2 separate regions of the Homo sapiens genome follow, and region 2 is linked to region 1. The links are contacts of gene promoters, found by promoter capture Hi-C in blood cells and fetal thymus (Javierre and others, 2016). All regions are on one chromosome and are shown on one strand. Each heading gives the region's core, a stretch centred on a gene start or on the middle of the fragment in contact. The rest is flanking DNA. Distances are from core to core; before and after follow the strand shown.

Region 1 (5,523 bases), core at 2,959-5,458:
TACCCTGCTATCATTACCCTGCTGTATTTTCTTCAGTGCATTACTCACTCTCTGAAATCCTTATTTGCTTGTTTTCCATCCTTTCCACTAGAATACATTTATGAGAATAAGGACCTTGTCTGACCTGTTTTCTGCTGTATCCCTAGTGCTCAACAGTGCCTGGAATGTGGCAGATGTTCTGAAAATATCTGATGAATGAACAATACTCTGACAGGCTTTGTAGCAGATGCTACATGTTGGGGAAGGGGAGAATGTTTAAAAAGCAAAACACGGGATACCTACTTTCAAGGGCCTGCACTTGTATTATGGAATAATATTAATAATTATACAGTGGTCTAACATTAAAATAGAATTCAGAGATCTCCACCTTCTACTTTCACCATTCTTAGTTTCAAGGGTAAGGCAGAATGGTTTTGAATGGCAAACATTTGCATAAAGAATTTTCTCTTGTTATCTTAGTCTGTTATTTTTTATTTTTTTTTTGAGGCAGGGTCTCGCTCTGTTGCCCGGGCTGGAGTGCAGTGGTGCCATCTCAGCTCTCTGCAGCTCCGCCTCCCGTGTTCACGCCATTCTCCTGCCTCAGCCTCCCAAGTAGCTGGGACTACAGGTGCCCGCCACCACGTCCGGCTAATTTTTTTGTATTTTTAGTAGAGACAGGGTTTCACCGTGTTAGCCAGGATGACCTCGATCTCCTGAACTTGTGATCCACCTGCCTCGGCCTCCCGAAGTGGTCTGTTATCTCTTAATGATAGCTTTAGAAGTCTATTTTCCTCATCTACTTCCTACCAGCCCTTGGTGTCCAATGGGCTAGTGGGAATCAGCTCTACCATTACCTATAATCAGGCAACTCACTTCTTTAAAGTATAGATAAGTTCATTATTCATTCATTCGTTCATTGAGTAAAAAGTTACTAAAGGCCTGCCAGGCACCATACTAAGTGAACACAGCAGGGAACAAAATGGCATCTCTTAGCTCATGAAACTAACATTCTAGTGATGGTGAAGGGAAAGAAACAACAACAAAAAAGATACTGGAAATCACTGAAAGGCAAAGCATGGAACAAGGCTGCCAGACAGAACACTAGTACATTTCCTTTTGGTTCAGTCGTGATGGAAGAGAAGATTTGAAAAGAGACTGGAGAAAACGTTTGTTCATTCACGCAACAAAATAGTTATTGTGCACCTTCTATGAGACAGGTAATCTGTTATGCAGCGCAGACGATCAGGAACAAAATAGACAAGGAGCTTCTTCATGAGCACATAATATTCCAGTGAGAGAGAAAGATGGCAAAATAGATTTTTAAAAAATCAGTGATGAGTGCTGTATGGAGAAATAAAACAGATTAATGTGACTGGCACTTTAGACTGGGGGGAAGATAAATCAAGGAAGAACTCTAAGGAGGAAACACTTAACCTAAGCCCGAATGATGAGAAGTAACTAACTAGCCTTTCAAAGTTTGGGCAGAGAATATTCCAGTCACAAGGAACAACTAGTGCAACATATCCTAAGGCAGTAAAGAGCAAGGAATATTCAAAAGACAGTAGGAGAATGGTTGGGAGATGAGAGGGAAGCCAGGAGTCAGGTCATATAGAACTTAGGCTACTGTGTGGAGACTCAAGAGTGGAAGCAGGGAGACCAGAGAAGAGGCTATTGTAATGTTGACCTAGACTAGGGTGGTAATAGTAGAAAACACTGTTAGCTTTATGGCGCAAAGTTTCCCTTTGGGTCACACTTGTTCTGTGATATTATCTGATTCCCATGGAGCAGGGTGGGGTAGGGGTGTCATTTTGCCAGTAAAGGCCCCCAAAGCATAGGGTGCTGTAGGGTGTGTCTGAGCATGCCTGACAACCAATCAGCCACACCTACACCATTTTTTTTTTTTTTGAGACAGAGTTTTGCTCTTGTTGCCCAGGCTGGAGTGTCATGGCATGATGACGGCTTACTGCAACCTCCACCTCCCAGGTTCAAGCAATTCTCCTGCCTCAGCCTCCCGAGTAGCTGGGATTACAGGCACCCGCCACCACGCCCAGCTAATTTTTGTATTTTTAGTAGAGACAGGGTTTCACCATGTTGGCCAGGCTGGTCTCCAACTCCTGACCTCAGGTGATCTACCTGCCTCAGCCTCCCAAAGTGCCGGGATTACAAGCATGAGCCACCGCACCCAGCCCACACTTTTTTTTTTTTTTTTGAGACGGAGTATTTGCTCTGTCGCCCAGGCTGGAGTGCAGTGGCGTGATCTTGGCTCACCGCAACCTCCGCCTCCTGGGTTCAAGCAATTCTCCTGTCTAAGCCTCCCGAGGAGCTGGGACTACAGGTGTCCACCACCACGCCCAGCTAATTTTTGTATTTTTAGTAGGGACGGGGTTTCACCTTGTTGGTCAGGCTGGTCTCAAACTCCTGACCTCAGGTGATCTACCCGCCTCAGCCTCCCAAAGTGCTGGGATTACAGGCGTGAGCCACTAAGCCCGGCCTACACTTTTAAATTCTTGAAACTTTGCCTTGAATGAGCTGCAAGTGCCAAATCCACGACAGGGAACGCTTGAAAATAGGAGACTTCAACCACTGGAGACAACTACTTCTTGGTTTCACTTCCCCACAATGAGTACAAAACCTGAAAATGAAATGACTGGCTCTCTCGCAACACTAAGCTTGCCCATCTCCTAGAGGAAGTTAAAAGCTGCTCGTGGGTGAAGACAGGTGCAAGAGGAGGGGACTGGGACTGCGGTGTTGCATTCAGCCACCATTTCCAACCGTCCATTTACTCAGGCCAGGATCCCTAATTCTGCAAAAATGGAAGGGGGGAAAGGCGGAGGTAGTGGCAAATTCTTCCATGCCTTGACCCAATTTTACTGATTTTGTTGCCAACCCCAAGATGTTTCCTACAACAGCTATCCCCAACCTTTTTGGCACCAAGAACTGGTTTCATGGAAGACAACTTTTCCACGGGGTTGGGTGGTTTCGACATGAACCTGTTTCGCCTCAGATCATCAGGCATTAGATTCTGATAAGAAGCACACAACCTGGATCCCTCACATGCGTAGTTCACAATAAAGGTCGTGCTCCTATGAGAATGTAATGCCGCAGCTGATGTAACAGGAGGCGGAGCTCAGGCTGTAGTGCTAGCTCGCCTGCCGCTCACCTCCTGCTGTGCGGCCCGGTTTCTAACAGGCCACCGACGGGCCTGGTGGTTGGGGACCCCTGCTTTACAGGGTGGCTGAACTGAAGCTTATTCTTCACGCTTGCACTATTCAAGATGTATGATATCTGATCATTGTTTGCACACTGCAAAGCAGGCTGCAATCCAACCCTGGGAAGAGGGGCGCGGACACGCAGGCTAACGCGCCTGCATTTCCCCCCGCCAACCCCTCCCAGCTTCCACAGCCGGGAGCCCGGTGGCGTCGACCTCGCACCGCCCTCCGGTTCTCCCACTTGGGACTCGAGGGTTGGATCTCGCCAGGCACCGCCCTCTCCCCACAGGTGAAGGGAAGGGGCACCCAGTTCCCTCGGCTGCATCTTTGCAAGGGTGGATGCAAGTATAAATGCTGCAAAAGCAAGGGTGCGCCGGGGCCCTGAAGCGTGCATGCCCGGTGGTCATAACATTCTCCGCTCAGAGTCCACTAGGCCTGTAGGACGCCGGGAAGCTCTGGGACCGTTGCTACAGACCACCTCCCGTCAGCTCCCGGAATCCAGCGTCTCCCCACGGGCGCGCGCTCTTCCGGGCGCCCCGGCGGCACCTGCGCGCGACGTCCCCCGCCCCGGTTACCTTGTAGAAAGTGACCGTATCCAGGGGAAGGGCGCCCTTGGTGTGCAGGCCGCTGCCGCCATGCGGAGCGGAGAGGAGCAGGAAGCCCAGGAGAAGGGGAAGCAGCGGGGAGAGAAATGCGGCGCGGGGCACAGCGGCAGCCATATCGCCGGGTTCCTGCAGAGGGAGGTAGGTAAGCGATAGTGGAGAACGCCCCGAGTCAGCGGTCACGTGACTGGGGGGGCGGACTCACGCGCGCTCACGTGGACACCCCAGGAGGCTCCCATCTGTCTAGGGTGAGAGGGTGGGGCCACGTGAGGGGCGGGGCGAGGGAGGGGAAGCTGCTGCGCACGCGTACTCGGCGAAGCTCGCGTAGGGCCTGGGTAAAAGGGCGGGGCCACGTTGCGGGCGGGAAAATGGGCTCCTGCGCGCGCGCACTCGCCGAGTCTTCCGGCGGGTCCGCCCAGTTCCGTTCCTGCTCCGCTTGAGGAGAAGCGCCAAGTGCGCATGGGGACGCTATAGCAATTCGTTTGCTGTCCTTCCTCTCCTTCGAAGATGACAAGGCCTACCATCGTTTCTTCCTGCCTTTGGGCCGTCAGGCAGTTGGTTGGGACCCGCTCCAACCCTCGGTCAGTCTATTAGTCAAGTTCAGCCGTTATTCTCAGTCAGGCTCCGTCACCACCCTGACCCAGGCGGGCAGTGGCTCCGCGGCTTCCCTGAGCTTTTTGGCCAGGCTTGGCGGTCAGTGTGGCAAGCAGGGCCCTCTTAGGCCCGATCTGAGGTGAGCGCCTCCCCTGGGAGACGCCAGGCTCCTGGGATCCGCCCAGCCAAGGCCCACCCTCCAGGAACCCCAGACGCAATTCTAATCATTCTGTTCCGCAGGTAGTCACTCGGTCCCTGGCTTGTGCCAGACTCTGGCTTTGCCTGCGGGGCTACGGAATAAGCAGAAACAAGACCGTTGTGTGCTGAAGGCACGCACTTTGTTGGGGGAGGAGGCGGCATAGGAATAATGATCTAAACAGTGCAGTGTAATTGCTGTAAAATATTATTCCGGCTGGGCGCGTTGACTCACGTCTGTAATCCCAGCACTTTGGGAGGCCGAGGCAGGTGGATTACCTGAGGTCAGGAGTTCGAGACCAGCCTGGCCAACATGGTGAAACCCCGTTTCTACTAAAAATCAGGCGAGTGTGGTGGTGCGTGCCTGTAATCCCAGCTACTCAAGAGGCTGAGGCAGGAGAATTGCATGAACCCAGGAGGCGGAAGTTGGGGTGAGCCGAGATTTCGCCATTGCACTTCAGCCTAGGTGACAGAGCGAGACTCAGTCTCAAAAAGAAAAAAAAAGACCGTATTTTCTTATTGTAAAGAGACAGAGATTCAGCCATCCCTGCTCAGGAGCATCAGAGGAAGTTGTAGACAGGAGGTGACTTTTGAGCTGGACCTTGAAATAAGAGGGGGCGTGCATGAGGCAAAGAGAAACAGGGCATTTCTAACAATGGGAAAATTATGCACAGGCATGTTGGGGAACTGGTTGAGATGAATCTATGTAAAGGCGAACTGGCGCAACAGCTGCTGCCGCTCTTTTTTATTTTGATTGATTATTACTGAGCTTCCATGGGGCGGATTCGAAAGGGTCTCACCAAGCTAAAGGGTTTGGAGTCACCAGAAGTTTTAACTAGGAGAGTGAGGTTAGATTTGTGTGTAGAAACAGCACCCAGGTCAGCCTGGGCAACGTAATGAAACCTCGTCTCTACAATAAGTAGAAAAATTAGCCATGTGTGGTA
Region 2 (6,204 bases), core at 3,565-6,064, 340 kb before region 1:
ATTTTATTTTTATTTTTATTTTTATTGTTTTTTTGAGACAGAGTCTCGCTGTCTCCCAGGCTGGAGTGCAGTGGTGCGACCTCCGCTCACTGCAACCTCCGCCTCCCGGGCTCAAGCGATTCTCCTGCCTCAGCCTCCCAAGCAGCTGGGATCACAGGCATGCATGTGCCACCACGCCCAGCTAATTTTTGTATTTTTAGTAGACATGGGGTTTCTCCATGTTGGTCAGGCTGGTCTCGAACTCCCGACCTCAGGTGATCTGTCCACTTCGGCCTCCCAAAGTGCTGGGATTACTGGTGTGAGCCACCGTGCCTGGCCTTTATTTTTATTTTTGAGACGGAGTCTCTTGCTCGGTCGCCCAGGCTGGAGTGCAGTGGCGCGGTATCAGCCTACTGCAACCTCCGCCTTCCGGGTTCAAGCCATTCTCCTGCCTCAGCCTCCCGAGTAGCTGGGATTACAGGTGTCGGCCACCGTGCCTGGCCCACAATTTTTTTTTTTTTTTTTTTTTGAATCCCATTTGGCGCCCGGCGCGGTGGCTCACACCTGTTATCCCAGCACTCTGAGAGGCCAAGGCGGGCCTGAAGTCAGGAGTTCTGAGACCAGCCTGGCCAACATGGCGAAACCCTGTCTCTACTAAAAAACACAAAAATTAGCTGGGCCTGGTGGCACGCACCTGAATTCCAGCTACTCTGGAGGCTGAGGCAGGAGAATGGCTTGAACCCGGGAGGCGGAGGTTGCAGTGAGCCGAGATAGCGCCACTGCACTCCAGCCTGGGTGACCCAGCAAGACTCCATCTCAAAAAAAAAAAAATTAAAATCCCATTTGGCAAACCCTTAACCTTATGCTTATTTAAATATAGCATAGAATAAATATTTGACCTGTAGGGCAGCGCTCATCTTTGTTTTGAGTCTAGTTTTTATTTGTACAAAGGCTCAAATTCTTAATATTTATGATGATTTGAAATTGAACTAGGATTGGAATAACCAGCATAGACCATGGTTGAGAATATAATTTTTTGGTGGTGACCCAAAATAATTTGAGATTTGAAGTGTTGCTGTGTGTATGTGTGTTTGTGCGTGCGTGTGTGTGTGTGTGTTGTTGTTTTGTTTTGTTGAGACAGTCTGCTCTGTTGCCCAAGCTGGTGTGCAATGGCGCAATCTTGGCCCACTGCAATGTCTGCCTCCTGGGCTCATGCAATCCTCCTCCCTCAGCCTCTCAAGCAGCTGGGACTACAGGTGTGTACAACCACACCCAGCTAATTTTATATCTTCTGTAGAGACGAGGTTTCACCATGTTTGCTCAGACTAGTCTCAAACTACTGGCTGCTCCTTGGTTTTAATAGAAGCATTATGAATAACATACCCAGGTTTTTCCCTCTTTCTGTCTCTTTTAGGAGGCAGGGTGAAGAATTTCAAACCAATGGATTAAAAAAAGACACTATTGGGTGATAGGTCACACCTGTAATCCCAGCACTTTGGGAGCCCTAGGCAGGAGGATGCTTGAGCCTAGGAGGTCAAGACCAGTCTTGGCAACATGGCGAGATCCTGCTTTTACAAAAAATTAAAAAATTAGCTGGTCACGGTAGTACGTGCCTACTCAAGAGGCTGAGGTGGGAGGATTGCTTGAGCCTGGTAGGTCGTGGCTGCGGTGAGCTGTGTTCACGCCACTGCACTCCAGCCTAGACAACAGAGCGAGACCCTATCTCAAAAAAAATCAAAATAAAAAATAAAAATCTATTATTATTATTATTCTTAGAGGTAGGTTCTTGCTGTGTTACCCAGACTGGCTTTGAACTCCTGGGCTCAAGTGACTGTCCTACATCTGCCTCCTGAGTAGCTGGGCAACAGGCATGCACCACTGTGCTGGCTAAAAACCACTATTATTAATCCTGTCGAGCACATATTCCATTTTGGCAAATGTTAACTGATGAGATTAAAATTACCCTTCACATTAATAAAGTTCTATTTCTATAATATTTTCAGCAAGCAAGTGGATTCTATGAGGACAGGAAATGATTCTTCTAGCCTAACTTTTTAAAGCTGAAGTTTAGAACTTATTTTGGGTTTTTCTTTGATGCATGAAAGGATCTGGTTGTAGTTTCCCACCACACCCAGCTAATTTTGTATTTTTAGTAGAGATGGGGTTTTACCATATTGGCCAGACTGGTATCGAACTCCTGACCTTGTGATCCACCCTCCTTGTTCTCCCAAAGTCTGGGATTACAGGCATGAGCCACCACACCCCGCCTGTAGTTTCTTAAAATGACTCATCTCTATTCAACCAGTCATTGTTGAAACTCAGGAAAGAGCCACATTTTACAAAATATAAAAGACAATACGAAGCTGACTTTTTTTAGTAATATATGTTCTTCTATAAGAGAAATGACAAAAACAAAATAGTCTGTACATGGGTTAATAATTTTAGAGCCTTTTCTCTCAGTAGCATGTTTAGAATTTAGGGAAATAAGACAGGTTTGATAAAATATCCATTAGCCTAGAAAGATACTTAGAAAGAATCCCTCACCTGTTCTTTAAGTTGCCCCTTGATTGTAATGAAGCCATGTGCTCATTCTTGGAACGCAGAGCTGTCAAGAAACATCATCAGACATAGTTTTAACCTGGTAATGGTGGCTGCCAGTCAGGTGGCTGTCAGTCAGCTCCTTGGTTCTTATGAAATTCTTCTGCTGGTTTCCATAGAGTTGATGTTCTGTTTTGGTCTGGGGTAAAGCAAGGACTTAGTCTTTGTTATGGATGTTTGCTAACAGGAAATCAATGATGCTTCTAGCCTTTTGGCAACTGACTTATAGGAATTCTGAAGTTTTCTTCATTACAGACAAGGTCTCATCACAAGCCAGAATGATGGTTGTCTTATTTTAAAACACTTATGTTGGGCTGGTTGTGGTGTCTCATGCCTGCAACCCCAGCACTTTGGGAGGCTGAGGCAAGAGCATAACTTGAGCCCTGGAGTTCGAGACCAGCCCTGGCAACATAGCGAGACTCTGTCTCTACAAAAAATCAAAAAACTAGCTGGGCATTTTGGCATATACATGTGGTCTTAGCTACTTGGGAGGCTGAGGTGGGAGGATTGCTTGAGCCCAGGAGGTTGAGGCTGCAGTGAGCTGTGATGGCACCACCGTACTTCAGCCTGGGCAACACAGCAAGACCTTGTCTCAAAAAAGAAGGGAAAAAAATGATGTCTTTGGGAGGCTGAGGTGGGCAGATCACCTGAGGTCAGGAGTTCGAGACCAGCCTGGCCAACATGGTAAAACCCTGTCTCTACTAAAAATATAAAAATTAGCTGGGCGTAGTGGCAGGCACCTGTAATCCCAGCTACCCGGGAGGCTGAGGCAGGAGAATCGCTTGAGCCCAGGAGGCGGAGGTTGCAATGAGCCGAGATTGTGCTGCAGCACTCCAGCCTGGGCAACAAGAGCAAGACTCTGTCTCAAAAAAAAAAAAAAAAAGATGCTCCATCCACAGATATTCTAAGGTAACCAGACTGGGATGAGACCAACTCATTAGTCTCGTTTAAAAGCTCTCAAAGCAATTCTAATATTCAGCCAGGGTTGAGAACAGCTACCCTAACTCATATTCTTCTGATGTCCCCTCCTCGCCACCATAGGTATTTTCTTCATCTAATTGAAACGTTCTTATGTGCAAGAGCATACCCTGTCTCAAAAAAATTTAAAAAATTAAAAAGCAAAAGCTTCTTAATAGGAAAAGTTATTAGTTTCCCTATAACTGCATATGCATTTATATGAGAGCTCCTCAGCCTTCTCACTACCCATAGTGTGGTAGTTTTGCTGAATATCTGTTAAATTGAATGAAAACACCAAAATAGGAAAGTGAAGGGAAATGGTAGGCCATATTCATTCTGTCTTTGTTTTAAAGATTAAGAAACTGAATAACAGAAAGATTAGTGACTGAGATGACTGAGATACTTTGGGTTAGAATTTTTGCCTTTTAAACATGCCGACAGTAATTTTATCTATTAGGCTATGTTACTACGTAGGTACTTATGCCATCCTTGGTAGTAAAATCTTTATGTCAGTCAGTGTAGCATAAAAAAAGTAAAAATAGTCATTTATGATCTTCCATGATTTATCTGTAGCTTTAATGCAAGAAGACAACTAAACACACTAAATTAACACCTTTCACTTTTACCCCTTGCCTAGAAATTTGTATTTATTAAAGCATGATATTTATTTAGCCACTATGAATAGTTTATAGACAGACCTGGAAATTTATAGATTTGTCTTTGTTGGAATACTTGCTTAAACAGACTTGTTTCCTAAACCACTGGCCTGGTTTTCTACTATTAAAAGATTATTTAAATTGGTTACCTAGAGAAGATCTCCATGCTGTTATGAGCCATATTTTGAGATAGGAGAAGGAAGCCCAGCCATACTCCCTTATCTGTGTCCTGGCAGATGCAAACCTGCCCTGCCCTGCACATTTGGTTAGAGATGATAGTGCCAAACCACCACTTCTGACGCGATCATGAGGCTGGTCTCCTTGTCTCCTTTGTGCACAGGGACTGCTCATCTTACAGTAAGCTTCTATTTGGAAGCAAGAGATTTGAATTCTTTGAAAACATTGATAAAGCAAGTCAGGAGGGGAGTGCAGGGACTGGCTATTTGATATACCTACACAGAAAGCTAGGTACAGATCTTCAGATCTGCAAGACATGGGAAATAAACCCTTACCCAAACCAAACATGTCTTCCTCTGTAGAATATGAAACGAGGTGGCCAGTGACCAAGCTGACCACACATTTTGAATGAAAGTGATGATGTATGCTGCCATTCACACTCCAGTAGATTTCTGACATGGAATTAAGCTCTTTTTTAGGGAGACTAATGGGCCCTTAATTTAAATTGAGCCATACTTGCATTTGGTTCTAATCTACTGAGCTAGCCACATTAGCCAAAGAGTTGACCTAGCCCTGTCACTGACACCAGTAACCAGGAGAACAAAGTGTAGTGAATTGTGTGGCCAAAAGTACTGGCACCATAAATCAGAGCAAGCTGTATGTGGAGAATGAACATTGAGGGTGTGTCTTGCTGGCAACCTTAAGCTTTTAAAATTGTATTATTTTTTCTTATGATGAAATAAAGTCTTACTCACTTGAGGGACACTATAAAGATATTTGATTCTTTGAAGATTAGAAAAATGAATTCATCCAAGAACACTAAAACTTGTTAGATAAAAATATACTGACAGATTGGGGAGGGCCTGTTTGACTTCATTGGCTTCATGTGTAGCGTTAGTACATATCCTTAATAAAGAAAAACAACATGGGTACTTTAAACCTCTCAGAAGCAGATTCTTGGGTAGAATACTTAAAAGCTTATGAGAACATGACGATGCTGCTCTAAAATCAATGAAGCCAAAGCAAGAGAAGTTATACAAAATAATATTATTTCTGATAACACATACTGTTTCCCCAGAAATGATTATTACCTCCTTTTAGCATATCATGAGAATGGCACGTTTATTTTGAGTTTAGAGTTCTAAGAAGACATTTGGTATCCAAATAAAAAGTATCGTATGGCTGGGTGTGGTGGCTCATGCCTGTAATTCCAGCACTTTGGGAGGCCAAGGCACGAGATGACTTGAGCCCAGGAGTTCAGCCTAGGCAACATGGCAAGAACCTGTCTCAACAATAAAATAAATTAATTAGCCAGGCATGGTGGTGCGCGCCTGTGGGACCAGCTACATGGGAGGCTGAGGCAGGAAAATCACTTGAGTCCAGGAGTTTGGGGCTGCAGTGAGCTGTGTTTGTGCCACTGCACTCCAACCTGGGCAACAGAATGAGGCCCTGTCTCAAAAAAAAGAAAAAGAAAAAGAAAAATATCATATTATTGATAGCCTTTCCAAAAAATATGAACATTTACAGAAATATAAAATTATTCAATGTGTTCCCAGTCTGTTTTATTTCTTTTCTAGAATTAAGTAGGCTCCTTAAATCAAACTAATTTTTCTCCTTTGCTTTCAGCCCTTGCCAAAAATAAAATCCTCCTACACCTGTTCACCCATTTTTACTCCATAACACTCCAGGCACTGTTTCCAGGAAAAGGTTGAAATTAAGAATAATGTATTTCCTGCTGACCACCATATTTGTACTGCCGTAGTTGCATTCTGTGCCAATTTTTTTTTTTGCCATCTGTTCTCAGCATGAGATTGAGATTCATATAACAAGAGGGAAG

What was found. Contacts are between HindIII fragments. The CHiCAGO score rates a contact against its expected background, and 5 or more counts as called.
Region 2: a fragment that was not itself captured here is called in contact with the fragment with the promoter of TMEM116 in region 1 in 1 of 17 cell types (endothelial precursors); the score reaches 5.2 in endothelial precursors.

The regions. Positions count from the first base shown.
Region 1 is chr12:112,011,850-112,017,372 of GRCh38, reverse strand. It overlaps TMEM116 (transmembrane protein 116), which reads left to right and starts at 4,208. Exons shown (of 11, transcript NM_001193531.2): 1 at 4,208-4,371. It overlaps ERP29 (endoplasmic reticulum protein 29), which reads right to left and starts at 3,947. Exons shown (of 3, transcript NM_006817.4): 1 at 3,764-3,947. The coding sequence starts at 3,907. RefSeq lists enhancers at 2,474-2,613, 4,284-4,473, 4,344-5,232 and silencers at 3,614-3,703, 4,044-4,123. The HindIII fragment of the contact is 12,495 bases long and covers 3,228-5,523 here.
Region 2 is chr12:112,349,592-112,355,795 of GRCh38, reverse strand. The region is part of intron 1 of HECTD4 (HECT domain E3 ubiquitin protein ligase 4); the gene reads left to right. Among named protein-coding and RNA genes, the nearest start is that of HECTD4, 30 kb to the left of the region's middle. The HindIII fragment of the contact is 520 bases long and covers 4,555-5,074 here.